Regions from separate parts of the Homo sapiens genome. Here regions 2 and 3 are each linked to region 1. The links are contacts of gene promoters, found by promoter capture Hi-C in blood cells and fetal thymus (Javierre and others, 2016). All regions are on one chromosome and are shown on one strand. Each heading gives the region's core, a stretch centred on a gene start or on the middle of the fragment in contact. The rest is flanking DNA. Distances are from core to core; before and after follow the strand shown.

Evidence for each region. Contacts are between HindIII fragments. The CHiCAGO score rates a contact against its expected background, and 5 or more counts as called.
Region 2: a contact is called between a fragment that was not itself captured here and the fragment with the promoter of CHL1 in region 1, in 2 of 17 cell types (naive B cells and total B cells). The highest score is 9.2, in naive B cells.
Region 3: a contact is called between a fragment that was not itself captured here and the fragment with the promoter of CHL1 in region 1, in 1 of 17 cell types (naive B cells). The highest score is 5.2, in naive B cells.

The regions. Positions count from the first base shown.
Region 1 is chr3:195,288-198,401 of GRCh38, forward strand. CHL1 (cell adhesion molecule L1 like) reads left to right here and starts at 1,476. Exons shown (of 28, transcript NM_006614.4): 1 at 1,476-1,776. CHL1-AS2 (CHL1 antisense RNA 2) reads right to left here and starts at 2,054. Exons shown (of 4, transcript NR_144487.1): 1 at 1,680-2,054; 2 at 1,169-1,221; 3 at 709-753; 4 at 471-627. The HindIII fragment of the contact is 3,854 bases long and covers 1-3,114 here.
Region 2 is chr3:78,692-81,805 of GRCh38, forward strand. No RefSeq gene overlaps it. Among named protein-coding and RNA genes, the nearest start is that of LINC01986, 68 kb to the left of the region's middle. The HindIII fragment of the contact is 427 bases long and covers 1,407-1,833 here.
Region 3 is chr3:100,000-103,113 of GRCh38, forward strand. No RefSeq gene overlaps it. Among named protein-coding and RNA genes, the nearest start is that of LINC01986, 90 kb to the left of the region's middle. The HindIII fragment of the contact is 8,634 bases long and covers 1-3,114 here.

The DNA of each region.
Region 1 (3,114 bases), core at 226-2,725:
TATTTGTTTTGTAAATAATGATTCTATTGTCAAGAAACAAATCACCAAGAAAGAAGGAGCTATATATTTAAGAGTACTCTGTTCATCTGGCCAAAATGGAGTTCCGAGTCCCTTGCTCAGCTGATGTTTGTTCACCCAGAAGATGGTAAACTCCTGAGACCAACTTCGCTTTGTTGTTCTCTTGTGGTTCCTTGACCTTGGAAATGTTTTTCTACAGGCAGAGTATTTCCCCCTGTTGGAATTTTATTTAATATTCTATCTTTGTTTCTACTTTAGAAAACATGCCACGTGAATAATGATGCCTCAGGCAAAAGAAATCACTCCAGCAGTACAATTTAAACTTAGGACAAATCCTGCCCTCACTTGCATTCACAATTTGCCAAGGCAGTTGGTAAGAACTGTGCCCACACACAAATTGACAGAATCGAGGCCCCAAGGTTAGCGATGATTAAAATTTAAAAGTCCATTCATTCATTTTCAAAATATTTTATTCGATTGCTTCTGAGGCAGAATCATGAGTTGCCTTCGCTTTTGCTGCTCCCGGTGGTGGCATCCAACTCTGAGGATAGCTCATCCAACTCTGAGGGTAGCTCTGAGGGGAGCTAAATATCCTCATTGTTCAATGAGCTAGATGAAAACAAAACGAGGCTGTAAGGTCAATCTCACAGCCTTAGTGGAGTAAAAATTAGAAGTCAATAATTCTCTTACCAACAAAGAGGACTTGCATTCAACAGGATTTTCAAAAGTGGTATCCTGTAAAAATTTTGGAAAATACCACCATAATGGAAAAAAAATAAAGTGGCATATAAATCAAATGTAGTGCTAAAAATTATAATTTTTCCATATGAATTTTGGAATCCTAAAATATTTTTATGTGTTTGTGGATTCATAAGGCATCAGAACTGGCTTTTTGCACTGAATATGAGTACAGAAGGCTTTCCTCTCCAATAGTGAATTAATAAAGGATAAGTAGGAAAAACGTTACGAAACGATGTGGTAACATTATAGACTCTGTATTAGGGCAAAAATTGTGAGATAGTAGAAGATCTGTAAATTTAAGCATGCACAATTTGACAGCGGATGGTCGTAGCATATTTTGTAAATTCAATAGCAAGCCCCACCACGCCCTTAAATGAAGGAAAGCAAGAAGACAATTTTTAATACGTACATGGCACCACACCCCTCTAAGACGCAGCAATGGGAGAAAAGCAGATTGGCGACCTGTGTGTGCAACATGAACCGAGTGAAACCATCGGGGAGGGGGTGGGGGGCGTTTCTTTTAAATGTCGCTTTTGCAGATAAACGAGCAGGGATCCTACCTCTTTTGACCGGAGATGTTGAAAAGCACGACCAAAGTTTTTGGCTTGGTCTCTTGCTTTCCACAACGAGATAAAGTCTGAAGCCTGTAACTCTCCCTGTCCCGCGGGAGCGTGCAAAGGGAGGGAAGATAAGCGGCGTGGGTGAGGGGTGGCGGCGCAGAACCCAGGAAGGGAGCAGAGGCGAGAGCCAGCCTCCGGCAGGAGGGCGTAGACCCCGGTGCCAGCCAGAACGGCTCCAGCCTTCCCGCGGCCAGAGAGCCAGCGGCGGGAGGGGACGGGCGGGACCTCCGCGGACAGCCCCGGGTGCGGACCAGCGGGCAGCGGCCGGCGAGACCCTCCCTGGATCCGCCCAGAGCTTACCGGACCCTGCGCGCCCCCGTCCCGGCTCCCGGCCGGCTCGGGGGAGAAGGCGCCCGAGGGGAGGCGCCGGACAGATCGCGTTTCGGAGGCGGCGCAGGTGTGTCAGGGGTGGGGGTCCGCTGGCATCTCTCGTGCCGGCGCTGGGGGGGTCTCCCGTGGAGGAAGGGCTGAAGGTGCTCCGGGAGGGGTCCACTCGTTATGGAAAGGAAGCGGGGCGCGGTCAGGGTCCCTCGTCCGCAGTGGGGGTGGTCCGGGCCCCTCAGCCTGCACCCGGGAGGAGACGCCCCCTTTTCACGCCCCGCCCCCGGTGGCCGAGGCCGGATTCGGACAGCTCGGGGTCAGTCGACGGAGCACACCGGGCGCCCGAATCCGCCGGGTCCCACTCACGCCCGCCGGCCGCCGGTAGGTTGGCCCTCCCGCTTCCAGCCTCCGCCACCCCATCCCTCGCTGCTCTCTGAGGAGGATTCCAGACCCCCCCGTAGATCTCCGCCCTCTCTCGGGTGGGGCTCCGAGGTCTAGCTGGTCTGGGGGTCAGTCCCGGCCTCTGTCTCCCACCGCGCCCCTCGCTCCCCTGGACACCGCCTGGTGTGTGGGGCTCAGACCCCCCCAGTCCACTGCCCCTGTGTGGCTCCTCCTCTCAGGAGAGGATTCTAGATCCCAGCCCGGGGGGGGTTCCGAAAATGCCGCCAGCCTGGAGCGGGGAATCCATGGACCGTGGGGTTGTGGGGTTGGGGAGCACGAAAACCCAGAGAGGGGCTAGAGCTCCACCTCCCCAGACCGCCGAGGGGCGAGAGGGCGCGCCGGGGGCCGTGGTTGCCATGGCTCCTGGTAGCGGAGCCCGGGGGGCTGGAGATGCCGGTCGCGGATGGTCCCTTCTTCCTCTTTGTGCCTCTCTCTTTCTCTCGCTTTTTTTTTTTTTTTGGAGTGTGAGTGTGCGTGGGGAGGCAGCACGGAGAAAGTGATTAATTTGGGGAGCAGGGATTGGAGCCGGGAGGCTGGGGAAAGCCAGCCCCTCCGTTCCCACTCTCCGGGCTCGCTGCGAGCCACAGTGTCTCAGCCAGGGGCAGGGCCGGGGAACTCCTGCGAAAAACCACGGGCCGGAGGAGCAGCAGCCGCGCGGGCCCAGGTACCCCCGCCCCAGACGGCCAGCAGGGTGGAGCGCAGGGTGGGCGTTTGGGCTGCTGGGCGGGAAGGCGGGCGGGGAAGGGGTGGGAGGCCGGCGGCGGAGGGCAGGTGTGCGTCGGCAGGGCTGGGTGGCCCGGCAGAGAGGGCGCCCCAGGTTCAGCCCCTCCTCGAAGGGCGCCGGCGTCCAGTCCCGCTCGTGGGAGCCGCGGAGCAGCCCCAGGGCCGGCGAGCGGCTGCCCTGCCAGGCGCGTGCGCGAGGGCGCGCTCCCGCGGGAACGCGCCGTGCGCGGGGAGATTTGCGCGTGCGCGT
Region 2 (3,114 bases), core at 370-2,869, 120 kb before region 1:
AAAAAGGAATTTGTTCAGGAAATATTGTGAAAAGTACAGGGAACAGACACAGAAATCCACCCAGGCTCTGTACTTTAGCATTAGGCTTAGAAGAGTTGTGGTTTTGCTTCATTCCCTGAAATAAAATATTTGGTTGATTGTTTGGTAGAGGAGTGTGGACGCAGGAAACCACAGTGTATACCTGGGAGAGGAATTGGGGTGGATAAACTCTCCTCCATTGAGGGGAAGCCTCTAGCTCTATATTTTGCTTCTAATTGACATAGCAGGGCTTTTTTCTTCCTGCATCACCACTGTCCTTTCTGCGGTTCCAGTATACATGTTGGATATTGGTTTACATTTCTAAACTTATTGAACGCATGACCCTTTATCTTACCCATTATTTACTGTTTAACTGTCAACTTTTACTGCGTATACTCAGGCAATAAGACAGAAAATACATCAAAACCCTTAATATCTTCTTGAAAAGATCTGAAATTACTCTTGAAAATGAAAAATTAGGTCTATTCTGGATCTCTGAAATACAATATTGTGCTCTTATATGTTTCCATCAAAGAAGGAAAGAGACATTTATTTAGTATAAATAGTAATATGGGCTAGACTCTGCACTGAGCATTTTAAAAATAGTATCTTATATAACTCATTCACCAGCTCTCAGAGTTAGTATCAGATACTGTTTATTGTCCACCAAATAGTTATCCTTCTCTTTTTTATTTTTAACAAAATCCATGTGCCTGACTAAAAGCATTTACTCTCTTGCCTCTAGGTGCCCATGGTGGTAGAGTTCTTACCAGCGAGACACAATTAGAAATCTTCCAGGGTGTTTGGGAAAAGCTATTATTGCCTTCCTGATACAACGCCCACATCCTCTAGCTCCCATTGTGTGCATTTACCCTCCCCCATTTATGATATAATTATCCTAGATAGTTTCTCTACATACATCTAGAGCCACATCAGTGTCACAATTTTTCTTTCAGCCTTCAAACATACTTTAGAAAACTCAAAGAGAAGAAGAAAAATCTAATGTATTTATTTGTATTTTTGCTGACCATGCTTTTCTTTCTTTTCTATTTTTCGAATTTCCTTTTTTAAAAAATTTTACTTAGAGAACATCTTTTAGTCACTCTTTTAAAGTAGGTGTGATGATGACAAATTCTCTTAGTTTTTCATCTAATGATGTTTTGATTTCCTCTTCATTCCTGAAGGATGTTTTCACTGGCTGTGGGTTTCTGGGTTGACAAATCTTTTCTTTTTAAGACTAGAAAACTATTTTGTCATTTTTTTCTGGCATCCATGGTTTCTGAGGAGAAATCTGCTGTCCTTCGAATTGTTCTTTTGCCTATGGATAAAAATTCCATTTTTTTTCTGGCAGCTTTCAAGATTTTTTTCTTTTGTCTTCAGTTTTAAGAAGCTTAATTATATTGCAACTTGGCATGGATTTCTCTGGGCCTTTTCTGTTCAGTGTGAAATCAGTTTCTTGGGTGTGTAGGTTGATACCTCTTGCCAAATTTGAAAGTTTTCAGCCCTTATTTGCTTGAGTACTTTTTCAGCTCTTATTTCTCGTTTCCTTCCAGTACTCCAACGACGTGAATATTGGACCTTCTGTTGTAGTCCAACAGGTCCCTGAAACTCTGTTCACTTTTGTTCAGTCTCTTTTCTCTCTGTTGTTTAAACTTGGTAATTTCTACTGTTCCATCTTTCAGGGCCCTGATCTTATCCTCTAGCTCTCCTTTTTGTAGCCACGCCCACCCACTGAGGTTTTTATTCCCATTATACTGTTCTTCAGTTCTAAAATTTCCATTTAGGTCTTCTTTATACCTTTTATTTCTTTACTGAAGCTTTCTGTTTTTCATTTGTTTCACGTACATTCATGATTACTCTCTGAAGCATTTTTTATCTTGGCAGCTTCAAAAATCTTCATCTGATAATTCTAAACATCTCTGGTCATCTTGATATTGGCATTTATTGATTTTCCTTTTTTCATTCAGTTTGGGTCTTCCTGGATTTTGGTATGATGAGTGATTTTTTTATTGAAACGGGGACATTTTCATATTATGTTTTGAGGCTCTAGATCTTATTTAAACCTTCTGCTTTAGCTGGCTTTCCCTGACATAAGTCCAGCATGTCTAGGAAGAGGAGGATACTAACACATTCCTGCCAAGTGGAGGTAGAAGTCTAGCTTTCCCACTTGGTCTCTGTTGACACCCAAGGGGGTAGGGCTCCCCATTACTGCTTGGTGGAATTAAGAGTTCCAGTTCCCCAAATGTTCTCCACTGACACCATGGCGCCGTGAGCTTCATTACTTGCCAGTGGGGAATAAAAGTCCTGGATCCTACTTGGCCTTTTTTGGCAGCACCCCAGTGGAGGTGTTGAAGCACCTGGTTATAGGTGGGGGAGGGAGTCTAGACTTTCCTTGTGGCCTTTACTGTTGGGGATGGGACCACAGTTCTGTGGTATTAGTTGGGGCAGAGTGGTTATTATCTAAATATTTTGTATGTTGACAGGCTGCCCGTTTCCTGGTCCTTTGGCTACAGTGAATAAACTTTTGCTGGGGCCATTTTTGTTTCTAATTGGCATTTTCAGGTTGCCACCTTCTTCAGCTCCAAGACATGAGGCAAAAAAGAGAATCCAGGGAACTCACCGATGTCATTCCTGGAGTCTTAATTATCTAGCCAGTCTGTGCGTTTCTCTTCACATCTCAGAGTTTTCTCATGTTTGCTGTTGTTTTTAGCTGTACTTTATGGGAGGAATTGGCAAAAGCATCTTTACTGTATATTGCCGGGAAGCAGAAATCACTCAAGAATATACGTCTTAAAAAATCAGCCTCCCAGGTGCTTCTCAGGCAAATGTTCATGAACCACACTTTGAGGAACATTTTATAGAATATGAAATTGAGGCCCAGAGAGAAAAACTCAAAGGCAAGATGTCACATACTCAGGTTGCACAGCAGAGATTCTAAACTAGAAACCACATCACATCTCCTGGCTTCCATTTCAATGCCATTTCCTCCTTGTGGCACAATATCGAACTACTAAGAATACCAAAGGGGATTAATGTACCAATTTCACTGTGATTCATGGAGATCAGTTTGTAGACATGCAGGAAATGTTAATTCTC
Region 3 (3,114 bases), core at 414-2,913, 95 kb before region 1:
TCTAGTATTACTATAGTCTTGGTGTAGTTTTTTTGTTTCTTTGTTTGTTTTTTTAGAAAAGGGCAAATATGTGTGTGTGTAGAAGTGTGGTACAGTGGGGGAGTTTTATATTCTCTTACAATATTGAAGCAATTCTTCTGTAAGAACGAAATGAGGTTCTTTGAGTTTCCAATCTGGGAGTGAATGTCAAGTTCGGAGTCCACAATTGTGTCTGACTCAAAATAGGAAATTGAAAAAACTTGAAGAAATGATGACCGCAGAGATTTCCAAGCTCACCTTGGCTTCTTAATCCCAGAGAAGATTAGATGGTAGGAGTAGAATGAGTCCTGAAAATTGAGTGATTTCAGGCTGTGTAATACCATGTTGCGGGCTTTACAGAAACACAAATGATGGTTTGCAAAATACAGTGGCTGCCAAAACCAAGTGTCTGAAAGATGACAGATTGTAGCCTGTCCAGTTGTGACCCTGAGATGACAAAGCCAGAGTGGCCACCTGGCCCATTGTTAACTCTTTGATTTACATGTAGCAGGCTTCGGCTCATCTCCTTAGCAATAAAGTCCCAATAATGTGGTCCCTGACCTCACCCTCACACTGACAGGTGCCTTTTCCGCCAGGGCATTCGCCACACACCAGGAAGAAAATTAGTGCTCTGATGCAAGGATTTACCAAATGACCTCTCTGGGGAGTGTAAAGAGTTAATGTCATTTTCCAACCTGCCTAATTTACTCTAAGAGGGTATTAATGTCTTTTGAGCGAATCAGAAGCCACGAGTGCCTGGGGAGACAGGACTGGGGGGCAAAATTAAGGAAAATACATAAATGTTACCCCCCTTTTCCAAAGTATCTCATTATAATACATTTACATATAACTCTTTTCTTAGCCTACAAGTGTTTTGACATTCCAGCAGTCTTTCAAAATGGATCTTTTCCCCCCTCCCCTTTTTCTATTTGCAACTTCTATGGGGTCTAGCAGAGCCAGCACTGAGAACCAGCAAACCAGGCTTTTACTCTTAGTTATGCTGCTATCTTTTGTCCCTGAGCTGGTCACTTCTCAGCCTTTTCAACTCGAAAACAAATGGGTTGAGTTAAATTATTTCTAAGGGTCCTATGCTTTATGATTTAATGGTTTAAATGTTTTCAAAAATCAATGTTTAAAACACTTCTTTGAATTACAACATATTTTAAATGCATGTAGCATCTTTTCTCCTCATTAGGGCACTATCTAAACATAAATTTATGATATCCCCTCATAGAATACTTAAAAGCAAATGAAGCTGGTGGGGTTTCTGGGTCATTTTATCAGCAGCAAACACAGCATAACTGTGTCAACCTTTAACCACAGCCACATTTGACCTCTGAAAAAGGCTTGATGACTGCAGAACTGGCCACCCATGACCTTCTAACTCCATTCACCTTCACCCTGTCCTAATTGGTGATCCCAGTGCTTCTCAGAAATCCTTGGAGCTTAAATACATCCAGGCAGGCAGGTGGGGTCTTTAAAGGATGGCTATCATCACAGTACACAAGGTTTTCTCCTCAAAGCATGAAACTCCACAAGCAGTTCCAATATCGTGAGTGAGATCAGGATCAAAGAACCAAGAGAAGGGCTTCTTCTCTAGGAGAAGATTATTTATTTTGTTATTCCAAAAGTGGGCAATACTTTCTGAAAATTTTGTTCTGTGTCCAAAATTTATATAATCTAGTTTTCTATAGTTGATAATGCAGCTGCGCTTTAACATGCTAGTCATAAGCCAGGTGTGAACACTCAATGTAAATGAATTACGTTCATGTAAAATTAAAAATTGAGTTCCTCAGTTACCCTAGCCACATTTCAAGTACTCAGTAGTCACATGTGACACAAGGCTACCACATTGTCCAGCGAAGATCAGTAACATTCCTGCTGTCACAGAAATGTCTACTGGACAGATCTGGAAGAAAGTGGATAAATGTTCAAACCTTCAGGAGCTATTTGTTGTTTCCCCTTCCATCATTCTTTCAAAATATATTAACTTAAAAGGAGTAGGCCAGAGGCTGAAAAAATCATGCAGAGTGCTTTCAATACATTGTTTAATTTCTCTCTTTGAGGTAAGTGCATTGTATCTTTTTACAGAAAAGAAAACTGAGTCCCAAGATCACATACTTGGTCAGTGCAGAGCTGGGATGTGTAAACAGTCTTTCAGATTCTAAAGTCTGTGTTAATCTTGGATAAAAATTATTTCTGGAATTTTTTTATCTAGAAATTGTAGGAAAACAGTAAGTTTCTGGACTCAATTATCATCACGATCATCATGATTACCATCCTCATCATCATTTGTAAGAAGTGAGTGAGATTTTGTTTTTATATTTTGGAAAGGATTCTACTTTACAACAGGAACCTAGGATTTTAATGGCTAGATCACTTCAAAGCCAGGCTAAGACAGAGAACAGGACAAGGGGAAAGAAAGAAAGAAAACAAAAGAAGTAAGATAAAATAAAGGCAAACATGCATACGTAACTCAAATGTTTGCATTTTACTTGTGCATTTGTAATCACTTTGTTTTGAGGGCTATAGACTTCATTTAGTTCCCTATAGAGCTAGCATCCTTCCAGACCTTGCAGGTAAATATAAGAGTGAGGTACTTGATATGCGGTGTGTTTCTTCTCTGTGAATCAATTCAGCTGAGAAGCAAAGAACTGCACTTCAGACTTCAGGCGTTTTATTCCTTGGCAACCCACTGTAGTGATATTACAAACATTGAACCTGTTAGACTAATGGAAGTAAATGTTGTAAAAGCTGTGAAAGTCACTGGAAAATATTCACTCATTTGTGCAAGGATAATTTACCAAGTACCCACTATGTGTGAGGCACTGTGCTACACACCAGCTCGAAAAAAGGTGACATTAAAATACAACCCCTTCACCTGAGGGGCAAATTATTGGATATGGGCTGTTACATAAGCAACTCTAAAATAGTATAATACAATCAGCAGTGTAGGTAAATGTTTTATATCCAGCTCCTTAGGAAAAAAAAGCAGTATTTGTCTCATTTGCTATCGTCATGGTGTAAATAAATACTCCCACTATGATCAATATCAGGTTACCAACATAATGTCACTAAATGTGGAGTTGGAAAGAG